2 separate regions of the Homo sapiens genome follow, and region 2 is linked to region 1. The links are contacts of gene promoters, found by promoter capture Hi-C in human tissues and cell types (Jung and others, 2019). All regions are on one chromosome and are shown on one strand. The core of a region is centred on a gene start or on the middle of the fragment in contact, and the rest is flanking DNA. Distances in the headings are between cores, read along the strand shown.

Region 1 (5,837 bases), core at 2,111-4,610:
GTGCGGATGTGCCGGCGGGGAGTTTGGGACAGAGAGTGACGAGAACAGAGAGGAGGAGGTGGGTAGTTAGGCAGGGGCAGAAAAAAAAGCACAGGACCTGGAGCGGACAGACCTGGGTTCCACCCAGCAGCCGTGTGACCTTGTGCAAGTCTCCTAGCACCCTAAGCCTGTTTCCTTGTTTATAAAGAAGACCACAAGGACAGAACCAGCAGATAACCATGGAAGAAATGAACCCCGCACCTTGACACACTGCAGAGGCTCCATAATGGAGGCTCAGGTGTGGGGGTGCAGCGATGATGCTGCAGTTCACTGCCTTTGAGAGCAAACTTGATCTGATTCTCAGAATTCCAAAGAAGTCCTGGGAATCATTTATTCTTTTTCTCTCTCCAGACCCCAGGAGCCCAGGCTGGGCTGGGGGATGGGGGCGTGGCAGGCCCCGTACTCACCGCTATGGCTCTCCCCATCACTGCTGAGATAGGGGTAATACTCGTGCGTTTGGCGTTGGTATAGATCCGTGTCATAGGGCACCAGGTCTTCTGATGGCTGCTGAGAGAGGAGGTGTCAGGGCCTGCACCATGGTGGGAGACCCCAGCCAGGCCTGCAGCACCCCCGCACGCTGGGTCCCCATCACCTTCCCTGGCTCAGTGGCTGCGTTGGACCTACAGCCCTCCCTCTGCCTGGAACTGGGACAGAGAGTGGGGCAGGGGACCCAGAAGGCCTGAAAAGGGGTGACAGGGACCTTGGGGGTGAGAGGTCAGAAGAGGACCAGGGTCCCCCTCTGCTGGGCTACTCCCCATAGCCACCTCACGCTCACACTCACACTCACGCCTGTGTGCCCCCATCCTCATCCCACACACCTCTCCTGGTCACACTGATGCACATGTCCACACGATCCCTGTGTCACCCTCACACTCATAATCCCACACGAGGACTCACTCTCACAGCCCCTACCCACCCCCATGCAGGCGCCTGCACACTATCCCTCACACACACATCTTCATACCCACTCAGAGGTCACCCACCTCACAGAGACATTGTACACTCAGCTCATGCACACACGCAGAGTCTCCTTGATTGACACTCACATGACACCACGTTCCAGCCATCAACACACACACTCACACCCCCAGAGCCACTCACATTCCACCTGCACACTCAACCGCACAGCACACACTTGCCTGCCCAGCCCCACTCTCACAGCCTATGCCTCTCACACAGCCTGGGCAAGAGTGGCACCACAATGACCCTCCACACTGACGGTTGGTGCAGGGGTCACCCAGGCAGACTTAGGGGCCGAGCGCATGGAGGGCCTTGATCCCCTCACTCTCCCTCCTGAGTCCTCCCTATCCTCCTCCTTCCCTCCTCACTGCATCCCCCTCCCCGTCTCCTTTGCTTCCTCCTCCCCCTCCTCACTCCCCTCTGTCCTCCTTTTCTTCCCCCTCTTCCCTGTCCTCCTTCTTTCCTCCCACCTTCCTCCCTCCTCCCTGTCCTCCTCCCCCTACTGGCACAGACACAGGGCCGTGCACACCCAGGAGCCTTCCCAACAGTCATCAGGCCTCCCCGCCCCCGCAGCGTGTGGCCCAGGATTGCATAACAGTCACTGTGGCCCTTAGGGCTGGGCTTGGGGGACCGGGGCTGCCTTGGGAGCCCACCCTACCAGGAGACACTCAGAGTGACCCTGGAGCTTGCAGAGAGGGCTGGGGGTGCCTAGGGATGGCCCAAGGAGCTCTGCCACCCATCTAGCTCCACCTGGAGTTCAGAATTGAGAGGTCAGGGATCAGAGACAGTGGGCCTGTGGCTTTCTTGAGGCAGAATTGGCTCTTTCTGAGACAACCTCCGTCACCCTCTGCCTGGGCCGCCCACTTCGTGTTCCCAGGTGGGAAGGGGTGTCGGTGTGGATGCCACAGCAGGCTGGCTGGTCCTGCCTGGTCCTGCCTGTGGCTGGCCAAGTGAGGAGGCCAGGAGCCCAGCACTGAGCCTGCCCCTCTGGGTTTCCAGGTAGTACAGCCTCGCTGCAGGATGTCAGCCCGGCTCTGGTCGGGTTGGTGTGATGTCAGGCCTGGGGTGCCTCCCAGCCTCCTGGGGTGGCTCTGAGCCAGGGCATAGTGGGGGAAGGGAGCTGCCTCTAGACCAGGAAAGTGGATTCAGGTGGGCAGCCTGCCAAGCCCTTCCCGGCTCCCCTCAAGCCTCCTCACTCCTGAGAGGTCATGGGGTGGGAAAAGGGAGAAGGGTCCTTTCCGAGGGACCCTGGTCTGACACCTGCCTAAGGCTGCAACTGTCACTGAGAGTGAGGAGCAGTGGCGATCTGCCCTTCTCTTCTCGGGGTCCCCTGGGGCTCCCACTTCTTCACCCCCAAGACCCAGTCCCTGTCCTTGTCCCAGCCTCAGCCCCCATTCTCACTTATCACATGCTCACCCCAGGTCCCACCCAGCCCCAATCTCAGTCCTGGCCTTGTCCCAGCCCTGTCCCCTGCCGCGCCTCTCCCTGAACTCCAGCCCTGGGGCCAGCCCTAACTGCACTGTCTCAGCTCCACTCCTGGCTCCTTTCCAGCACCAGTCCCTGTCTCCTGTGGGTACCCCTGTGGGCCCATGGCCCTGACCCTTTGGTCAACAATCATGTCCTCTGTGCCAGGCCCCAGACTGGGCGTTGGGGACCCAGAGTTCCATCAGCTTTGGTTTCCAGGAGCCCCAAGGCCATGGGCCAAGACTTCTGCCCATTGCCTCCTGCCTTCAACCCCTTCCCATCCAGGGGACCGGCCTCCCCCAAGCCAGTCCCCCCATCTCCCTCCTCTACCTCTCTACCACCGCCTTCACCATCCTCAGCCCAGCACCCTCCCCAGGAGCCCCGGCCTCCGCCTGCCACCCGAGCCCTGTCTATAAATAACTGTTCAGGCCCCACCGATCACAGCCCCACCGTGGGCCTGGCCTCAGCCCGCCAGGGCATGCTCCGAGGAAGCCAATGGCCCCCTCGCTGGGTCTCAGGCCAGGAGTTCCAGGGAGGAAACCCTGACTTCCCACTGATAGCAAGCCAGGAGGGCAGTGGGTGGGCTGGCGGGTTCGTGGGCAGGCAGGCAGGCGTCCGAGGGCCACGGGTTGGGCTGGTGGAGGAGTCCCGGTACTCACAGGGGGGACGAGGGGAAACCCTTCCATTTTGCACGCCTGTAACATCCAGCCGGGCTCCGAGTCGGTCAGATCCCCTGCCTCGGTGGGGGCCAATGCAGAGCCCCTCAGGATGGGGTGCCCCGTCAGGGGCTGGACGGTCGTGGGGCGGGTGCAGGGCTCAGGCCTGCCCCCTGAGCTACAGGAGCCCTGGGTGAGCCCCCTCCCTTGACATTGCAGGGCCAGCACAAGTTCCTGATTTTATCGAAGGGCCTGCCGCTGGGAGATAGTCCCCTTGGGGTGACATCACCGCCCCAACCCGTTTGCATAAATCTCTTGCGCTACATACAGGAAGTCTCTGGCCGGCTGGGGCAGGTGGTGCTCAAAGGGCTGGCCTGGGAAGCCATGGGGTCCAGGCCCCCTGCCCAGAGGAAGCTGGGACTGAGAGGGATGACTTTGGGGGCTAAGCTGGGGAGGGAGGATGGGAGGGAGAACGTGTAGCTCTGCCACACCACTGGGAGGCTTTTGCTCTAACCCAACAAATGCCTGCTTCTTTTGAGATCCCTATGTAGCCAACAGTCACCTCATTGGGGTCAGAGCTGGAAGGGGTGGCCTCTTGGGGCCTCCACTTTCTGGAGTCAGCCTTCCTGGGTGAGGGCTCTGATCTAGCAGGCTATCAGGCCTGGCTCTTCCTGTGGCCCTGCACCCCCACTGCCTAGGCTATCCCTAGGCTGAGGCTGGGCTCAGGTGTAGGGTCTTCAGCATAGTGCTGCTTTCTTCCTTCCCTCTGAATCTGTTCACATGGGCTTCCCTACCACCAGAAGAGGGTCCTGGGTTCTTATACCCTCCCCTCCCAGCTTCTTGATTACCACATTCAAATCCCTAGGGCTCTGTTTCCAGCCCAGGTTTCTCAGTTTCCCCATCCCTTGGCAATGCCTGAATATCAATCTAACCCTCCTGGTTTACAAACCTTTCTTGCCTATCCACCATTCATCTGTTTTCCCATGCATCTATTTGTCTGTCTATTTGTCCATCCAGCTATCCATTCATCAAGCCCACCATGCATTCACTTATGTGTCCATTTATCCAACTGTCCGTTTGTTTGTTCATTCATCTGTCAGTCAATTCATCCACCCACCCATCTGTTTATCTACTTGTCTATCTAACCATCTATATGTCCATTAATCAGCCCGTCCACCTGCTATCAGTCCATCAGTCCACAATTCCATCTGTTTATCCATCTATGAATCTGCTCATCCATTCATCCACCTGTCCATCCATCCACCCATCCACTCATCCACCCATCTACCCATCCACTCATCTGTCCATCAACCCATCCATCATCCACCTACCCCTTCATTCATTCATCCATCCATCCACCAGTCCACTCATCCACCCATCTACCAATCCACCCACCTACCATTCCACCCATCTATTCATCCACCTATCCATCCATTCACCTATCAGCTTCGGTTTCCAGGAGCCCCATGAGAACAGGCAGTATTTGACTTTCTGTTTCTGCGTTGTTTCGCATATGATAATGTCCTCCAATTCCATCCATGTTGCTGCAAAGACATAATTTCATTCTTTTTTATGGCTGAATAGTATTTCATTATATATATATATAAATACAATATAACATGTTATTTATTCACTCACCCGTTGATGGACACTTATGTTGATTCTGTATCTTTGCTATTATGAATAGTGCTGTGATAAACATACAAATGCAGTATCTTTTTGGTATCACTCATCCATCCAGCCATCCATTCATCCATCCATCCATTCATCCACCTATCCACCCATCTACCCATCTACCCATTTACTCATCCACCTGTCCACCAATCCAGCTATCTACCCATTCATCCATCCACTCATCCACCTATCCATCCATCCACTCATTCATCCAGCCATCCACAAATCCACCCATCCACTTATCTATCCATCCATCCATTCATCCATCCACCAATCCACTCATCCACTTATCTATCCATCCATCCATTCATCCATCCATCCATCCACTCATCCACACATCTACCGATTCACTAATCCACCCATCCACCAATCCACTCATCTACCCATCCATCTATCCATCCATCCACTCATTCATCTATCTGTCTATCCACTTATCTGTCCATCCATGCATCTTCCCAATGTTGAGTTCCAGGCTCTAAGCTGAGCGCTGGGAAAACAAAAAAGTATTATACAAGACCCCTGCCTTCAGAGAGTTCCTGATCTTTTCTGGGGGGTGGAGGGATGAGTAGAGGCATTTTTGTTTTGTTGTTGTTGTTGTTGTTGTTGTTTTTCTGGCCCAGTGATCTCTGGTGAGTCCCCTCTGCTGGGAAGGAATTTTGAACATTCAGTGTCCTCCCCTGTATAATCTAACCCCTTGCTTTAAATTCCCACTCCACTAAGACAGGCCTGCCTTCTTGCCAGTGGATTCCTAGGCCACAAGTGTTTTTTCATTAGCAGCAAACACCAGAATTTCACAGCTCTGGGCTCACCATTAGATCTACTTGACTTCCACCTTCACTGACTTTGTATCTGCACTTGGGACTCTCCAAAGGCTCCAGGCCACAGGTCCTCAGGGCTCCCTAGGAACCTGACCAAGGCCTCTCCCAAAAAGGAGGGGAGGGACAGGTTGGCTTGGCATCAGTTCCATCCTTGTTCCCACTTCCCCATCAAGAAGGCCAAGCCCCAGCTGACTGGGTGCAGTGGGGTGTAAGGTTATCCACTCCA
Region 2 (5,837 bases), core at 933-3,432, 140 kb before region 1:
AGGAAAAGAAAAAGAAGTGAAGGCCCTGTAGAGAGCGTCCTAGTGTCTAAGCTGACCTGGCCCCAAGCGCTGCTCGAGGGGTGCTTCTGTGACGGCGCAGCATGTGTGCCCAGGCCTGGTTCCTCACGGCCAGGCCCATCATCACTCACTGGCTTTTTCCTTCCTCGTGTTAGATTGGAGCTGGAGGGAGCATCACTGGGCTGAAGTTTAACCCTCTCAATACCAACCAGTTTTACGCCTCCTCAATGGAGGGAACAACTAGGCTGCAAGACTTTAAAGGCAACATTCTACGAGTTTTTGCCAGCTCAGACACCATCAAGTGAGTAGTTTAACTAGCAGGGGAAAGGGCTTCTAAGCTTAGGTGTAGTTCCGGCAAGAGCATCCAGATCCCATTTCCTTAACCCAACCTGGCCCAGGGAAGAAAGGAAAGATGTCAGCCACTTTCCGCCCTTCTTTCTCTTTCTCAAACTGCTCCTTGGCTGCCCTCACTTTGGTCCAGGTGGGTTACTGCTTTGGGAAGGTGTTCTGGAGCCTCAGCTCTTCTGTAAGTCATACCTGTATTAGACTGGACCTTGACCCTCACTAGATAAGCCAGCATGGCGTGGACCCAGAAAGCCACCTAGAGAATGGAGCAACAGCTCAGAACTTGAGACTGAATGCCCTGCACTCACTGTGGTGTAATGACCTGACCTGTTCCTGGGTGGAAGCTTATATGGATGGAATCTTTTCCATAAAGTGCTCTGGACTTCCCAAGAGAAAGTGGCTGGAGAAATTACAGAATGCGGCCGGGTGCAGTGGCTCATGCTTGAAATCCCAGCACTTTGGGAGGCCAAGGTGGGTGGATCACCTGAGGTCAGGAGTTCGAGACCAGCCTGGCCAACATGGTGAAACCCCCATCTCTACTAACAATACAAAAAATTAGCTGGGCGTGGTGGTAGGCCCCTGTAATTCCCAGCTACTTGGGAGGCTGAAGCAAGAGAATCGCTTGAACCCAGGAGGCAGAGGTTGCAGTGAGCCGAGATGGCGCCATTGCACTCCATCCTGGGCAACAAGAGCGAAAATCTATCTCAAAAAAAAAAAAAAAAAATTACAGAATACTCGTCACTTTGATTTCCAGCTAGAGCCGTGACTCTGACTGCTCCCTGAGGAATTAAGTGAGGGTGCTGGGGTGTAACTAGCATTGGATTGGATCCTGGGCTGTCCCGCAGGGATGAGGAGTGCATGCGCACGCAAATCAGCAGGCAATTGGATAGACAAGGCTCCAGGCTACTCTTCCGCAAGAAATCTTCCTGCTTGAAGATATTCATAGGGGATGGCAAAAGGCAGTGTAGCATGGATTTGAGAGTTTGAGAGAAAAACTGTGAGCTGAGCTCTTCTGGCTGAATAGCAGGATCCCTGAAGCACCCTCCTAGTCAGCCTCCCAGTCCAGTGGTTTGAGGGACCAGAAGAGCTCCTGGTTGTGTTTTTTCCCCCAGTGTTCAGAAGGGGGCAGAAGTGCTTTTCTAGCCAGCTCTGAGGAACAGGGCCAGGCAATCCCTCTTTGGCTTGTGTCTCCTTTGGCCTAAAGGGTGAAGAGTGAAAGGAGAGAGCAGTAAAGGAGGCTTGCTCAGAACCCGGGGTGTGGGGGGCAGGCGTGCCTCAGGGCTTGCTTTATGGTATAAGCTTTGTCTGCTTCAGGGACTTTTAGGAGCTGGGGATCCTGGGCCCAGCCATAACCAGACAGATTTCTGAGCCCCATTATCCCATCCCCTCTGTCTGGACGGTAGAGCAGTCTGAATGTTCCTCACTAGGAATCCACGGCAAGACAGTTATTCATTCATTCAACAAATATTTATTGAATGCCCGCTGTGGGTTAGTCACCGGAGCGGCAACAGTGAGTAAATAGGACTATCTCTGTCCCCAAGAATCTTACAACACAGTCTCTCCCTCCAGCATCTGGTTTTGTAGCCTGGATGTGTCTGCTAGTAGCCGAATGGTGGTCACAGGAGACAACGTGGGGAACGTGATCCTGCTGAACATGGACGGCAAAGAGGTGCGTTCTCCGAGGTCCTGCCTTTCCCTCCCTCACCCCCACCTCGGTTCTGTGTCCCCACCTGAACCGAGCTCTTCTCTGCAGCTTTGGAATCTCAGAATGCACAAAAAGAAAGTGACGCATGTGGCCCTGAACCCATGCTGTGATTGGTTCCTGGCCACAGCCTCCGTAGATCAAACAGTGAAAATTTGGGACCTGCGCCAGGTTAGAGGGAAAGCCAGCTTCCTCTACTCGCTGCCGCACAGGCATCCTGTCAACGCAGGTGTGATATCCCAGACCTCATCTCTCCTGCAGACCCTGCCTGTCTGACCACTGCTGGGGTTTTCCCTCAGTGTGGAAGCCACTACGTCAAACCTTTACCCCTGATAGCGTCTGCCAAGCTGATGTCTGGGAACCTTTGTGGCTGTGGCTGTCCCCATCAGCTGCTGAGTTTCCAGAATTTTTTTGTTGTTGTTCACAGCCCAGATTCACCTCTTCCTTTCCGCTCCTGTCTAGAGAGGAGTGGGAGGGAGAGTACCCCTGCAGGAGAAGGCCTGCAAGGCCAGGACCACAGAGGGCTTGTGGTTCCTTCAGCTCAGGGGCTTTTCACTTTGCCAGCTTGTTTCAGTCCCGATGGAGCCCGGCTCCTGACCACGGACCAGAAGAGCGAGATCCGAGTTTACTCTGCTTCCCAGTGGGACTGCCCCCTGGGCCTGATCCCGCACCCTCACCGTCACTTCCAGCACCTCACACCCATCAAGGTGAGTGGCGGTGGGAAGGAGCTCGCAGAAGGAGGCTGTGATCATGAGGCCGGAGCAGGTCTGCCCACAGTGGGGAAGGGCTGATGTGGTAAGCCTGCCACCCCAGATCGCTCCTGGCCCGAGCACAGAGCATCTCTTACCCATTGGCTCTCTCTCTTCCTTTTATCCCACTTCTGCCATCCCATATGGTTGAGTTTTCTGTCTCGCTGATAAGATATTTTTCTGAGTTTTTTCAGCCCAGCTCTGATCTCACTGTGAGAATTTTCTAAGATCCTGACCCTCTGTTCTGTCTTCTCAGCTTCAGTTACCTGTGTACAGTTGACCCACAAACCTTCATTTTTTATTTTTTTATTATTTTTTTTAAGGCAGGGTCTCGCTCTGTCACCCAGGTGGGAGTACAGTGGGGCAAGCATGGTTCATTACAGCCTTGATCTCCCAGGCTCAAGCGATCCTCCTGCCTCACTTTTTTTTTTTTTGTAGAGACAGGGTATTCTTGTGTTACCCAGGCTGATCCTTTTTTTTTTTTTTTTTTTTTTTCTTGAAACGGTCTTGCTCTGTCACCCAGGCTGGAGTGCAGTGGCACAAACATAGCTCACTGCAGCCTCAACCTCCTGGGTTCAAGCAATCCTTCCGCCTTAGCCTCGGAAGTAGATTGGACTACAGGTATGCGCCACCATACCCAGCTAATTTTTTTATTTTTTATAGAGATGGGGTTTTGCCATGTTGCCCAAGCTGGTCTTGAACTCCTAGGTTGAAGCCATCCCCCAACCTTGGCCTCCCAAAGTGCTAGGATTACAGGCATGAGCCACTGCGCCTGGCAACTTTGCCTTCTTAGTTTGTCTTGCAGGTTTCAGTGCTTCTAATAATAAAAATAAGTCTTTTATTTTCCCACCTTTTCTCAGGCTCTTGTTAATAGCTTCTCTATCATTAGTCCCCAACACTAATAGCTTTCAAGTCCTTTGATGCCTTTTTGCCTAAGCCCCCATGCAGACTGAGCTCTGCTAGTTCTGCATTCTTTTCCAAAACTACAGATCCTCTTCAGATCTTCAGGTTTTATGCCTATACTTCTCTGGTCAGTTCAGAATAGTGGTGGGGAGCGCCAGTTTCCAGCAGCCAGACCCCCCGGGTTAGAATCCTTGGGCAAATTACTTATATTTTGGATCTGTTTCCTCATCTGCAAAAAGGGAATACTAGTCTCTAACTGATAGGGTTGTTGTGAAGATGAGTCAGTATACTTAAAGCACTTGGCCCCATGCCCAGCACCTGGTAAGTACTGGTAAGTATTCAATAAATGATGATTGAATATTGAGTGGCCCCCACGTACCTCAATCACATCCAAGCTCTTAATAAATAATGTCAAGAATCCTTCCCCAGTTGGTGTTCCTGTTAATCCATCAGTGTTCCCGATAATCCATCTGTCTGCATGTCCCAGTTTGTATCTAGCCAGGTGTCGTAAGTCATTACAGCTTCCTGTGTGTGATTTGTGACTTATTTCTAAGCCTTCGCATGTACTATTTCTTCCTTCCTGCTAACCATGTCTTTCTTCCTTCAAAACTTCCTTGAGAAGTTTAGGAAAATCCCATCCAATTCTGCCATTTTAATAACTGCCAGATTTGTTTTTAGTGGGGTGATCTGGGGAATGTGGGTTTCCTTCTCTTTTTTAGCCATTAGCAATTTTACACTCAGCTCTTAGTTATTCGTGTTGATGGAGACAGGATGACAGTGGGGCTCCTCCAGAACTCAAGTCCTGTTAGGGTTTGGTCACCAGAGGCTTTTTCTGCTTTGTTGTAGGCCTCTTAGGTCAGTATCTGGGTCAGGCTGATGTTAAAACGTTTACCAGTTGGTATGATCTTAGGAAATGCAAATGAGGGAGAAGGCCTGAAGGTGCCCTAAGGGCCAGGGAGGCCAGCTAGGGATTAAAAATGTGCAATGGCAGAGGCACACACAACCTAAAACCATTCTTGTAGTTTTCTGTAAGACTTATCTCCATTATTAGGTTGGCTTGTTACTGGCAAATACTACTTTTTTTTTTTTTTTTTTGAGAGTCTTGCTCTGTCACCTAGGCTGGAGTGCAGTGACATGATCTTCACTCACTGCAACCTCCGCCTCCCGGGTTCAAGTGATTCCCCTGCCTCAGCCTCCCAAGTAGCTGGGACTACAGGCATGTACCACCACGCCCAGCTAATTTTTTTTTTGGTATTTTTAGTAGGGACGGGGTTTCACCATGTTAGCCAGGATGGTCTCGATCTCCTGACCTCGTGATCCGCCTGCCTCAGCCTCCCAAAGTGTTGAGATTACAGGTGTGAGCCACTGCACTCAGCCCAAAGAATACTTTTGATGTTCCTCTTTGTTCATATTTGTTTTTGATGTCCCCCTTGATCATGTTCTGTGTTTACCCTCATGGCCGGCCTCTCCATCTCCTAGGCAGCCTGGCATCCTCGCTACAACCTCATTGTTGTGGGCCGATACCCAGATCCTAATTTCAAAAGTTGTACCCCTTATGAATTGAGGACGATCGACGTGTTCGATGGAAACTCAGGGAAGATGATGTGTCAGCTCTATGACCCAGAATCTTCTGGCATCAGTTCGGTGAGGCTTGGGTCCTCAAATAATGATGGGAGGAAGCAGGGATTCAACCTACCTTATTGACCAAAAGTGACCAGAAATCAGGTGTCTCTGCTAATACCTTCACCCTCTCCTCATGTTGACACTCTTGTCTCTGCAGCTTAATGAATTCAATCCCATGGGGGACACGCTGGCCTCTGCAATGGGTGAGTAGGAGGAGAATGTCTCTGACTTGCCAAGTCCGATCCTACTTCCCAAGGTTCAGTGCGGGCCAGCCTCAGCCCCGCCCTGCCACATTCACCCCAGGGCAGTGGCCCACGAAGAAGATGGCTGGGAGACAGTGGTCTCTATAGCCAAGGCCCTCCATTCCTCTGGCTTTGTCTTGGTCATGCAATGCCTGGCTACTGTCCAGTTTCCTAGTATTTCTTTTTTTTTTTTGAGACGGAGTCTCGCTCTGTCCCCCCGGGCTGGAGTGCAGTGGCGTGATCTTGGCTCAATGC

The links. Contacts are between HindIII fragments. The study calls those that stand out against the background at their distance.
Region 2: a fragment that was not itself captured here is called in contact with the fragment with the promoter of SPI1 in region 1 in 1 of the 25 tissues and cell types used here (spleen).

Annotation. Positions count from the first base shown.
Region 1 is chr11:47,375,187-47,381,023 of GRCh38, forward strand. It overlaps SPI1 (Spi-1 proto-oncogene), which reads right to left and starts at 3,361. Exons shown (of 5, transcript NM_003120.3): 1 at 3,123-3,361; 2 at 447-543. The coding sequence starts at 3,167. RefSeq lists enhancers at 1,915-2,114, 2,785-2,834, 3,008-3,959, 3,455-3,524. The HindIII fragment of the contact is 21,953 bases long and covers 1-5,837 here.
Region 2 is chr11:47,232,641-47,238,477 of GRCh38, forward strand. It overlaps DDB2 (damage specific DNA binding protein 2), which reads left to right. Exons shown (of 10, transcript NM_000107.3): 4 at 174-319; 5 at 1,933-2,032; 6 at 2,117-2,294; 7 at 2,630-2,772; 8 at 5,197-5,361; 9 at 5,498-5,543. Among named protein-coding and RNA genes, the nearest start is that of ACP2, 13 kb to the right of the region's middle. The HindIII fragment of the contact is 6,251 bases long and covers 1-5,308 here.